Linked DNA regions of Homo sapiens: region 2 is linked to region 1. Evidence: promoter capture Hi-C in human tissues and cell types (Jung and others, 2019). All regions are on one chromosome and are shown on one strand. The core of a region is centred on a gene start or on the middle of the fragment in contact, and the rest is flanking DNA. Distances in the headings are between cores, read along the strand shown. Region 1 holds the start of CABLES1 (Cdk5 and Abl enzyme substrate 1). Region 2 overlaps RBBP8 (RB binding protein 8, endonuclease).

Region 1 (5,954 bases), core at 1,314-3,813:
GTGTGTGATGTCAAGCGGTAATACTGAGCTGCCCAGAAACGCTGAGTTTGCAGGACTCACCCAGAAACAAGGGATACCACCTCCCTGCCCTCACCTGCTGCGGGGGAGATGCATGCTCTGACAAGAAATACTGGAGTAGGGCTGTCACCTGTGCCCAGTGTCGCTAATTCATCCATGCACTTATGAGGCTGCTTCCCCGGTTCCACACCCCTGGCTTGCGGGCCATGCGCACTCAAACAGCGAGGCTACATAACTAGCACCCTCATGATTTCACCCACTTCGGAAGAAGTACACTAGGGGCAAACTTGTGGATGAGGCGGGCCTGTTCTTCCCCCATTTGTCCATTGCGGGAGGAAGTTAAGTTTTCCCATAGGCACCTTCTTACTTGGGCCAGATCAAGCTTTCAGGTAAGCATGATAGGAGAGAGAAATTCTAGCAGAGAAAGTCATTCTTTCCCAGAAGGGATAACTGAGGCCCCAAGAAGTTAAAACAACTTTGTCAAGGTAGGGTCTATGCTATTGCTAACTTCACAAGAGGCCTTATTAACCAACAAGGGAGGGCACTCCCTAGGAACGGATCTGCATTTCCCCACCTGTTCCCGCCTACTCGCCTACTTCTTTTGCAAGCTTCAGTTCACACAGTCCCAACCTCCGACTGCCCCTTAGAATAATACATGGTGACAAACTCTATTTCCTGAACAATAAGCAAACGTCCAGCGTTTCATGTTTTTGCTAAGACGCCTAATGCCGCCAGATAACTTCAGCTAACAAACAAGTAAAACAAGCGTTTAACGAACTCAAGCAAATTCATCTTGGAATAGGAAAAAAATCCCTCAAGCCCTATTTCCTCTTTGTTCCCCACCCCCCTAGGCCTAGTTGGAGGCAATGTAAGAAGGACTTTCCATTGCTCAGGAAAGCAAATGGAAAAAGCCAAGTTTCCCCGGGCCGCAAGAAGACTTGGAGCGCAGGCAAGAACTTCTCCGGAGGGTCACGCGTGTCTGCTACAAGTTCAGGCTCACACGCGCCGCTCAGCTGCCGGCCTGCACTGCTCCACTCTGCGCCCGGCCGAGTCTCGCCCCACGCGGGGAAGAGTGCGCCTCCGGGTCTGGACCGGGTTTCAGGAAGTTTGTGATCTCGTGTGGGGAGGCTCGGACGCCGCTTTCTACTGGGCTCCTGCAACTCCCAATTCCCGACCCACTGCACAAGCGCGGTGCTCCTCTGCGAATGCTGGGCTCGTGCAAACACGTGTAACCCCGCACTCCCTGGGGACGCCCCCTCTTTTGGGTGCCCTCGTGGTTTGGGATTCGGGCCCGGAGCACAGGATCCGGCAGGGCGCGGGAAAATGGGAGCAACCCGTGTCCCGTAGCCCAGAGACCGCGGGGAGGCTGGGAGCGCCGGGCGGGACGCAGGGTTGGGTGCGCGTCGCATCCCGGATACTCACCGGGACCTCTGCAGCTGCTCGAAGGCGCTGGTGCTGCCGCCCTGGCCTGGCTGCTCCAGGGAGCAGTAGTTCTGCGAAGTCGGCCTGGAGAAGGCGATGGGCAGGATTCCCTGAGTGAACGAGTTGAGGCGTCCCCGACTGCCGCTCCCACTCCCGGGGGTCCCGGAGCCCAAAAAGGCGGCCGCCGGCACCTGCACGCTGATAAAGGCATCGTCCTCCTCCAACTCCTCCTGCCCGGCGGCCCCGGACCCGTCGAGCAGCTGCAGTTGGGCACAGGCGGCGAGAGGCGCCGGCCGGGGCGGCTGCCACTGCTCCCCCGACGCCCGGCCGGCGCCCAGGGGACTCGCGAACCCCCGCGCCACCCCGGGGCCGGACACGGTCGCATGGCCGCCAGGAATCAAGGGCGGCAGCGACGAGGGCTGTGGGAGGCAGGGGCCGGACCCAGCGGCTAACCCCGCAGCCGGCGTGCCCGGCGCGGCGAGCGCGATGCAGCCGCCCCGCTCGGCAGCGGCGAGCAAGCTGAACCGAGTCCTCGCGCCGCAGGCGCCGCCGGCGCCCGGCTTGGCCGCGCCGCCCTCCTCGCCACCGCCCCACTCCGCGTCCTGCGGCGGCAGCCGGCCGTCCAGCGAGATGTTGGTGAGGAAGGAGAGGGCAGCCTGGCGGCGCCGCGGGTCCATGCGCGGCTTCCGGGGGGGTTCGGGCGGCGGCTGGGCCGGCGCGGCGGCCGCGGGCTGAGGCTGGGGCTGCGGCGGCGGCTGCTGCAATCCGCTGGCGCCCGCGGCGTCGGTGCCGGCGCTGCCGCTGCTGCAGGCGGCCGTGGTGGCGGCCGCCGCCGCCGCCGCCATTGTGTCCGTCTGCGGCGGGATTTCCGCGATGCCCGGAGAAGCGAGCGGCGCCCGAGCGCTAAGCGGCGGGCGCGAGCGGCGGCGACCCGGGCTGGGTAGGGCGCGGGGATCGGGCGGCGTGCGCGGCGGTCCAGCCCCCCCGCGGGCGGGCCATGCTCGCCCCTCGGTGCTGGGGATGGGGGCGCCGCCGCCCCGGCCCACGCGCACGCCTCGCTACCTAGCTCGGCTAGTTCGGCTCGCTGGCTGGCCGCCCGCCGGTCGCCTGGCCGCTGGCTCGCGGGCTCCGGGGCCGGGTGTCCGTATTTATAGGTGCGCGCGCCCCGCGCTCGCGCTCCAAAGCCCTCTTTGCAATAACACGGAATCACGTGTGGGGAATGCGACCTGGGAGGAAAACAAAGCCGCAGGCGGCGGCCGCAGAGGCAGACGGCGGGAGGCAAGGGGCCACGGGAGGAGGAAGAGGAGGACGCGAGAGCCGAGCGGGTGGTGGGGCGGGGGATCGGCCCGGCTGTCCGGGTTGTCGGAGCTGCCTGCTGGGAGAGTTGGCGACTCCCGGGGCCGCGGAAGCCAGGTGCGGGAGGCGAGCACGTTTCCCCCGCGCGCTCGCACTGGGAATTGGGTGAGCGAGCAGAACCCGGTGGGTTAGGTCCTGGGGCTGTGCTCCTGGGAGAGTTGTGGGTCTACAGGACGGTTATGTGGAGCGTTGCAGAGTTTTGGACTGCGAGCGAGTTACTTGGACCCCGCAAGGCCGTTGGTCCCCGAGAAGTAAATAGATCCTTTTCATAATAACACGGGTAAGTCCACAGCCCCTATGGAGACTGTCCCACCGTAAAGCTATCGCTAACAACCATTGCAGTTGGGTCTATTCATTCCCAGGCCAAGGATGCAGCCCCCGGGATAAATGCACGCCTTGGGATGCATAAGAGCCCAGAAGCACGAACATCTTACATGTGGCCAACGAACTCACGCATCCCCAATCCATGGTATTGTCACTTTTCATCTCTCTCTTAGCAAAGGACAACGCAAATTTTTTACTTTGGCTCTGAAATGTGCTCCATTTTCTGTGAAGACCCAGGTGGGCTAAAATGACCTTACACTCTTTTCCCCTGGTCACCTTGCAAATTTTTGTAGATTATGATCTCTTCTCCCTCATAAACTGGGACCAATGTGGACAGTTACCCTGTCGTTTATCTCATAAGCACGTTTGGCACCTACCATGTCTTCTATAAATACGGGTTCCTGACGGCCCTCCCAGAGCAGTAGCTCTGAATCTGGGAGGAGTCGCAGTCCCCACCCACAACGAATGCTTGTTTTGGTTGGGGGTGGGGGCGGGGGCGGGGACAGGGTGGAGGAGTTCACCTGGAGGGATCTGAAAACGTGTGCGGGTTTCCCCAGGCGGTATGGGCAACTTAACAAATGCAGTAAGGAACAATTGCCACACTGAATTAAGCTCTGTGACACCTAAGAAACCTGCTGCACTTTTGAGGGAGAAGCAATGTGTTTCAGATCAACGGATTAATTTAATTAAAGGTTTAAATTTAGCCCTGGAGCTAATGGGTAACTCTACATTGAAATTCCACTCCATTTCAAGTTCAGGAAAGTAAATTGAGTAATGGAGAGCAAATACACCGTCCAGAGAGGTGCCGCCAACCCGGAGTGCCAGACAGAGAGGGTTTCAGGTTACATTTGCTCAGGACAGAGATGGCACGTGGCCCTTTACATGAACAATCGTTGTTATATTTTATTTTGTGCTGTTTTTAGGCCTTTTGAAAACATGGAGCCTGGTGTCTGTTTACAGCAGCCTCATGTCAGTGGAGTCAAAGCTCAATGGCCAGCTCTGTGAAATTTCACCAGGATTTTAATTATTTTGGCTAACTACCTTGAAACTTCCAAGCCCTTTTATGACAATTGACTTAATTTACATGACCACTGGCCTGGTTGGGAGGCAGTGTTAAGTGAAAGACTCCAACGGTGCTCCTGTAAAATATATTTTCCATCATTCAAAAATGATAAATGTTAATTTCAGAACATAAGATAAGCAAAGAGGAGCAAAAAAAAAGGGGGTATCACTAACAATATCTTCTGTGGAAATAACGTAAAACTTAAATTTTGATTTCTGTTTTGTATTTTCATATATTTTATAGAGAGATATGTATATATATTCTTTTAGCCTGTCACCCAGGCTGGAGTGCACTGGTGTGATCATAGCTCACTGCAGACTCCTGAGCTCAAGCGATTCTCTCTGCCTCAGCCTCGCGAATAGCTGGGACTACCGGCACCCACCACACCTGGCTAATTTTTTTAAAAAAATTTGGCCTGGCACGGTGGCTAAAGCCTGTAATCCCAGCACTTTAGGAGGCCGAGGCAGGCAGATCACGAGGTCAGGAGTTCGAGACCAGCCTGGCCAACATGGTGAAACCCTGTCTCTACTAAAAATACAAAAATTAGCTGGGCATGGTGGTACGTGCCTGTAATCCCAGCTACTGGGGAGGCTGAGGCAGGAGGGCAGGAGAACGGCTTGAACCCAGGAGGCGGAGGTTGCAGTGAGCCGAGATCGTGCCACTGCACTCCAGCCTGGGTGACAGAGCAAGACACCATCTCAAAAAAAAAAAAAAAAAAGAAAAGAAAAAGAAAAAATTTTTTTGTAGAGATGAAGTCTCACTATGTTGCCCGGGCCGGTCTGGAACTTCCAGCCTCAAGCAGTCCTCCCATGGTGGCCTCCCAAAGCACTGGGATTACACGTATGAGCTGTCATACCTGGCCTTGGGTGTGTTTTTAAACAAAAGTGAAATCGGCTGTTTTGTTTTGTTTTGTTTTGTTTTGTTTTTTTGAGACGGAGTCCTGCTGTCTGACCCAGGCTGCAAGCTCCGCCTCCCGGGTTCATGCCAGTCTCCTGCCTCAGCCCCCCCCGAGTAGCTGGGACTACAGGCGCCCGCCACCACGCCCCGCCAATTTTTTTGTATTTTTAGTAGAGACGGGGTTTCACCGTGTTAGCCAGGATGGTCTCAATCTCCTGACCTCGTGATCCGCCCGTCTCGGCCCCCCAAAGTGCTGGGATTACAGGCATGAGCCACTACGCCCAGCCAGGCTGTTTTGTCTCTTGTGATTTTTGCCTGCTGTGTTGTGATTATCTTTCCATGTAGAATATTTTTCTGCATGGAAGAATTTTTATTTTAATGACTACATAGTGTTCAATTTGATGGAGAGACTGTACACTTTTAAACCTGTGCATTTAATAAATTTGTGGTTTCCACTTTTGCTCTTATAAAGCAATGATGACTTCCTTTGTTTTTCTAAATCTTGCTACCACCCAATATTATTTTCTTAGGTTAAATAGATGCTGGGGCAAATGGCATTTCGTGTTTTTAAGGTTTTCATCCTTAAAGGTTGTTCAGTCTGCTTTCTTACAATTTTGCTGGGTATTGAAATGTTTCTATCATCCCCCCAAAATATTTACAACCATGATACATCGATTAAAAAATACCAAAAAGTTTCCATCAGTATGCATTTTTTATAACCTTCATTTTCTATAACCTTTTGTCTACTGTAAGTGTGAAGTATGAAACGAATTTCAAATATTTATTAAAGCATCAAACAAGAATCAATGTCTAATCTCCAAACTGCCTCTGTGACCCCCTTTTGGGGATCTTGAGATATGGTTTATTGTTCACC
Region 2 (5,954 bases), core at 995-3,494, 120 kb after region 1:
TTGAAAGTCAAACTACTACTTGATCCAGTCTGCAGAACGATACGTGTTAGCGGGCATGAAAACAACATTCATCCAGCCTGGCCAACATGGTGAAACACTGTCTCTACTAAAAATACAAAAAAAAAAAATTAGCCAGGCGTGGTGGCACATGCCTGTAATCCCAGCTACTTGGGAGGCTGAGGCACGAGAATCACTTGAACTCGGGAGGCGGAGGTTGCAATGAGCCAAGATCGCGCCATTCACTCCAGCCTGGGTGACAGAGTGAGACTCTGTCTCTAAATAAATAAATAAATAAAAAATTCATCTCCTTGTACATCTCCATCAGAGCTCTTGGGTGACAACGTGCTTTGTCAATGAACAGTAGTATTGAGGTCACCTTTGCAAAAATTATGACAGTGGAAAAAATCTGACCTAGCTGACTTTATCTTGCTTTTAACCTTTAAGCTGTCTTTATTTTTGGGCATAGGCCAAATTAACTATGAGAAAAATTTAGTTTAACTTTAAAACAAAGATGACAACAGCTCCTTCTGGAAATCAGCCCTGTCCTTGCTCAGGGACTGAAACCACCTTTGTAAAACTAACAAATTAGCCACGAGGTTATTTTAAAACAAAGATGATTATCAGCTCCTTCCCAAAACTAACTCCTCCTTCTTGCTCAGAGACTTAAACCATCTATGTAAAACCAGCAAATCAGTCAAGAGGTTAAAATTATAGCTCAGTAGTGGAGTCATGCAGACAGAGGTCATGGGATTTCTAACCTCAATTGCTCCTACATACAAATGATATTACTATTATAAAACCTTGGGGTGTGAGGTATTTTTCAGACCCTACATTCTGACGGACCAGGTGGGCTCACCTGCGCTGGTAACTCATACCAAAAAACTGGTTCAATTGATCTTGTGATCCCACCCAAAAACCGACTCTGCAAAAAGACACCTTTGACCCCTATAATTTCATCCCCAACCCAACCAATCTCCATTCCCCGTTCCCAGCTCCCTCTCTGCCAAACTATCCTTAAAAAACCATAGCTTCCACATTTTAGGGGAAGGTGATTTAAATAATAACTCCAGTCCTCCCACTTGACTAACTCTGCAATTATTACACTCTTTCTCTACTATAATATCACTGTCTCAGTGAATCAGCTCTATTTGTATGGTGGGAAAAAAAGAAAAAACAACTGTTGGATGATTACAATATTTTGAAAGGATATCTTTTTTTTTTTTCTGATCAATAGGCTTAAAATATTTAGTAAACCATGCCATAAACAGATGTGCTGTCATCCAGGCTTTGTTGTTCTATTTCTAAAGCACAGGCACAGCAGATTGAGCATAATTCTTCAGGGTCCTAGGATTTTCAGAATGGTAAATGAGCACTGGCTTCAACTTGAAGTCACCAGCGCATTAACCCAAACAAGAGTCAACCTGTCCTTTGAAGCTCTGAAGCCAGGCACTGGTTTCTCCTCTCTAGTTATCAAAGTCATAGATGGCATCTTCTTCCAATAGAAGGCTGTTTCATCTGCACTGAAAATCTATTGTTTAGTTCAGCCACCTTCATCACTGATCTCAGCCAGATATTCTAGATCATTTGCTGCTACAGCTTCTATATCAGTACTTGCCATTTGCTTTGCACTTTTATATTATGGACATGGCTTCTTTCCTTAAACCTCATGAACCAACCTCTGCTAGTTTCAAACTTTTCTTCTGCAGCTTCCTCAAACTAAATAGAGTTAGAGGCTTGCTCTGGATTAGGCACTGGCTTAAAGGAATGCGGTGGCTGGTTTGATCTTCAATCTAGACCACTGAAATTTCCTCCATGTCAGCAGTGAGTCTGTTTCACTTTCTTACCATTGATGTGTTCACTGGAGTAGCACTTGTGATTTTCTTCAAGAACTTTCCTTTGCATTTGCAACTTGGCTGACTGGTGTAAAAGGCCTAGCTTTTTACCCATCTTGGCTTTTGAAATATCTTCCTCATTAAGCTTAATCATTTCTAGCATTTGATTTAAAAGTAAGAGATGTGCAACTCTTCCTTTCACTTGTATACTTAAAGGGCATCATAGTTGGTTTTTTTTTTTTTTTTTTTTTTTGGAGACAGCATCTCACTTTGTCTCCCAGGCTGGAGTGCAGTGGCGCGATCACAGCTCACTAGTCTCGACCTCCTGGGCTCAAGCAATCCTCCCACCTCAGCCTCCCGCAGTATAACAGTTGGAACTACAGGCGTGTGCCACCACGCTCAGCTAATTTTTTTTGTATTTTTTGTAGAGATGGAGTTCTTCCATGTTGCCCAGGCTGGTCTCGATTTGCTCATCACAGCCTCCCAAAGTTCTGGAATTACAGGCATGAGCCACCATGCCTGCTTCCATTGCAGGGTTCTTAACTGGCCTAATTTCAATGTTGTTGTGTCTCAGGGAATAGGGAGGCCCAAGAAGAGGAGGAGAGATGGGAAAATGGTCGGTTGGTGGAGCAGCCAGAACACACACGACATTCATTGATTGAGTTCGCTGTCTTACACGGGCATCGTTCATGATGACCCAAAACACTTATAATAACAGCATCAGGCCGGGCACGGTGGCTCACGCCTGTGATCCCAGCACTTTGGGAGACCTAGGCAGGCGGATCATGAGGTCAGGAGATCGAGACCATCCTGGCTAACATGGTGAAACCCCATCTCTACTAAAAAAACACAAAAAAATTAGCCAGGCGTGGTGGCGGGCACTTGTAGTCCCAGCTACACAGGAGGCTGAGGCAGGAGAATGGCATGAACCCGGGAGGCAGAGCTTGCAGTGAGACAAGATGGCACCACTGCACTCCAGCCTGGCGACAGAGCGAGACTCTGTCTCGAAAAAAAAAAAAAAATAGCATCAAAGATCACTGATCACAGAACACTGTAACAGATATAATAATGAAAAAGTTTGAAATATTGTGAGAATTACTAAAATGTGACACAGAAACATGAAGTAAGCACATGTTGTTGGAAAAATGCCGCTGACAGATTTGTTCAAACAGGGTTGCCACATACCTTCAATTTGTAAAAAACAGTATCTGCAAAGTGCAATAAAGCACCATGAAACAGAAAGTATACCTTAAATAGAAGTGTAATAAAAAGATCACATACATGCCCCTCTAGTTGGCAAGCACTTTCCCTCAAAAAGAAAAGTTTTAGTCACTCTAAGTATAAGTCCTTTTTTGTTTCAACTCAAGAACCCTCAGCTCTGGTGTGATCTGTGAATTAGAAAAGGGAAACCAGAAAAGTACACACAAAAAATATTGCCACAACTATATTTTCTTTCAAAGAGTTTATGGACTCCTAAGATTATGCAGATCACATTTTGGCCATATCCTTTCTTCTGAATATTAACTACTCCACTTCTATAGTGTCTTATCGTGACGTAGGGAATCTCCTAGCAGAACAGCATCTGTAGTAGACCTCAAAGCATCACTTAAACAAGCTTCTTGTCCCTGATACTACACAATCCATCTTCCCAGGTTTGCAGTCTTAGTATTCTCAGTGGAAAAAGCAACAATGTAACTCTGAGAATTCTAGCATCTCCATGCCTCCATCCCCACACTTCCATTCACCTCTTGTTCTCCAGCTATCTAATTGCTTCAGAATAAATAAAACTACTCATACATATTTTCTAAAAAACTAGTGAACCTTTAACATGAAACATTTAAAATGACAGTTCTTTTTTTTTTTGGAGACAGGGTCTCACTCTGTTGGCCCAGGCTGGAGTGCAGTGGTGTGATCATAGCTTACTGCAGCCTTGACTTCCTGGGCTCAAGCGATCTTCTCAAAGCTTCCTGAGTAGTTGGGACTATAGGCACACACCATCACACCTAGCTAATTTTTAATTTTTGTAGAGACGAGGTCTCACTGTGTTGCCCAGGCTGGTCTCAAACTCCTGGGCTCAAGCGATTCTTCCGCCAAAGCCTCTTGAAGTGCTGGGATTACAGGCATGAGCCACCTGGAAAATGACAGTTGTTACTCTGCAGTCCTACTTCTAGGAATCTATCTCAATGATCTACAGGCAAAAATATGAAAAGAGAATGTGCAAGGTTATTCACTGCAGCACTGTGTGCACTAGGCATAACTGTCAACAACCCAAGTGTCCACTGCTAGGGTATAAACTACAGTAGGGTCACATAATGAAGTACTATGGAGCTAAAAAGAAATGAGGAATATCGCTATATACAACTTGAGTGATTTCCAGGATCTATAGTTAAATAAAAAAAGCAGGCCAGGTGCAGTGGCTCATGCCTGTAATCCCAGCACTTTGGGAGGCCAAGGCAGGCAGATCACAAGGTCAAGAGATCGAGACCATCCTGGCCAACATGGTGAAACCCCATCTCCACTAAAAATACAAAAATTAGCTGCGCGTGGTGGCGCATGCCTGTAGTCCTAGCTACTCGGGAGGCTGAGGCAGGAGAATCGCTTGAACCCAGGAGGTGGAGGTTGCAGTGAGCTGAGATGGCGCCCCTGCACCCTAGCCTGGTGACAGAGCAAGACTCCGTCTAAAAAAGCAAAGTAGAGCAAAGTATATATAATATTCTATATGAGTCATGGATAGCATGACTATATACATGTATTTGCTTCTATTTTTTAGGATAGAAGAAAAATCATAAATTTTAAACAAATGATTACCTATAGGGATAGGGAGCTATAAGATATAGAGGCCAAGAATAGACGTGAGATTTATCTGAATATACTTGTAGTCTGGTACAATGTACATACTTTGTGTCCATTATATACATTTTATATATATATATATAAAATACATTATACTTTATGTACTTTTAAAAGAATTAAATATGAAAAGAAAAAAACCCAATTCCTAAAAAATCAAAAGCAAAATAAGGTACTGAGTTGGTGGCATAACTGCAAAAAATAATTATCCCAAATGACTTTAAAAAAAAAACGCAGTGATTTTACTGTACATTTCTAATAGAATATATTTTAAGGACAAAAGAGCATACAAAAAGTTTTCAAACAATTTTCATTAATTATATTATTGGTGGTATTATTCTGAAACTGCTTTATGTGTATTGTGGAATAAAATAAATTAAGGAATTATGTTGGTGGCACTGAGAAGTGGGATTTTCAGTAGGTGGGAAAGTAAATAAAGATGTAAGATAGAGGAGTTTACATAAATATCCTGTGGTCCTGAATTTGAGTTAGAGCGATCAGTATGAAGTATAGTTTACCTTAAAAAATCAAAGTGATATGGCCGGGTGAGGTGGCTCACGCCTGTAATCCCAGCACTTTGGGAGGCCGAAGCGGGTGGATCACGAGGTCAGGAGATCGAGACCATCCTGGCTAACACGGTGAAACCCTGTCTCTACTAAAAATACAAAAAATTAGCCAGGTGTGGTGGTGGGCGCCTGTAGTCCCAGCTACTCAGGAGGCTGAGGCAGGAGAATGGCGTGAACCCAGGAGGCAGAGCTTGCAGTGAGCCGAGATTGTGCCACTGCACTCCAGCCTGGGTGACAGAGTGAGACTCTGTCTCAAAAAAAAAAAAAAAAAAAAAATCAAAGTCATACAAAAAATCTTTTTCCTAACTCTGTCCACCTAAAAGGCTGAGAAACAATGACTAAAGTGCAACCCTAGCAGCCAGACTGTGGCCTAAACACCATTTCTCACTAAAAGGAACTAGGGCTCCAAGAAAAATGGCAGATTCCAGATAACAGAAGCAAGAAACCTATGAAAGAAGCTTCCTTTTCCTTTAGGCAAAGATGGGACAATCTGGGTATCTCTAAGGATAATGACTGCAATGGATTACAACACATCAAATATACTTAAATTGATGAGTATATAATGACACCTAAACAAAAAACAACCTAGTCACATTTGGAATGCTAGAGTACCATTTGTTTGGAAAACTGGTAACTAAAAAAGAAGAATTAAGCATTAAACAAAATGACAGCTCTTTAAGAGTTTCAGAGGAATAAAAAAAATCTT

What was found. The method cuts DNA at HindIII sites, captures the fragments that hold promoters and counts their contacts. A contact is called where the count stands out against the background at its distance.
Region 2: a contact is called between a fragment that was not itself captured here and the fragment with the promoter of CABLES1 in region 1, in 5 of the 25 tissues and cell types used here (adrenal gland, bladder, mesendoderm cells and 2 more).

What each region holds. Positions count from the first base shown.
Region 1 is chr18:23,132,094-23,138,047 of GRCh38, reverse strand. CABLES1 (Cdk5 and Abl enzyme substrate 1) reads right to left here and starts at 2,563. Exons shown (of 10, transcript NM_001100619.3): 1 at 1,441-2,563. The coding sequence starts at 2,285. RefSeq lists silencers at 1,695-1,944, 2,045-2,254, 2,385-2,594, 2,715-2,794, 3,555-3,664 and 3 more and an enhancer at 3,215-3,364. The HindIII fragment of the contact is 17,284 bases long and covers 1-5,954 here.
Region 2 is chr18:23,008,340-23,014,293 of GRCh38, reverse strand. The region is part of intron 16 of RBBP8 (RB binding protein 8, endonuclease); the gene reads right to left. Among named protein-coding and RNA genes, the nearest start is that of RBBP8-AS1, 78 kb to the right of the region's middle. The HindIII fragment of the contact is 5,014 bases long and covers 1-4,751 here.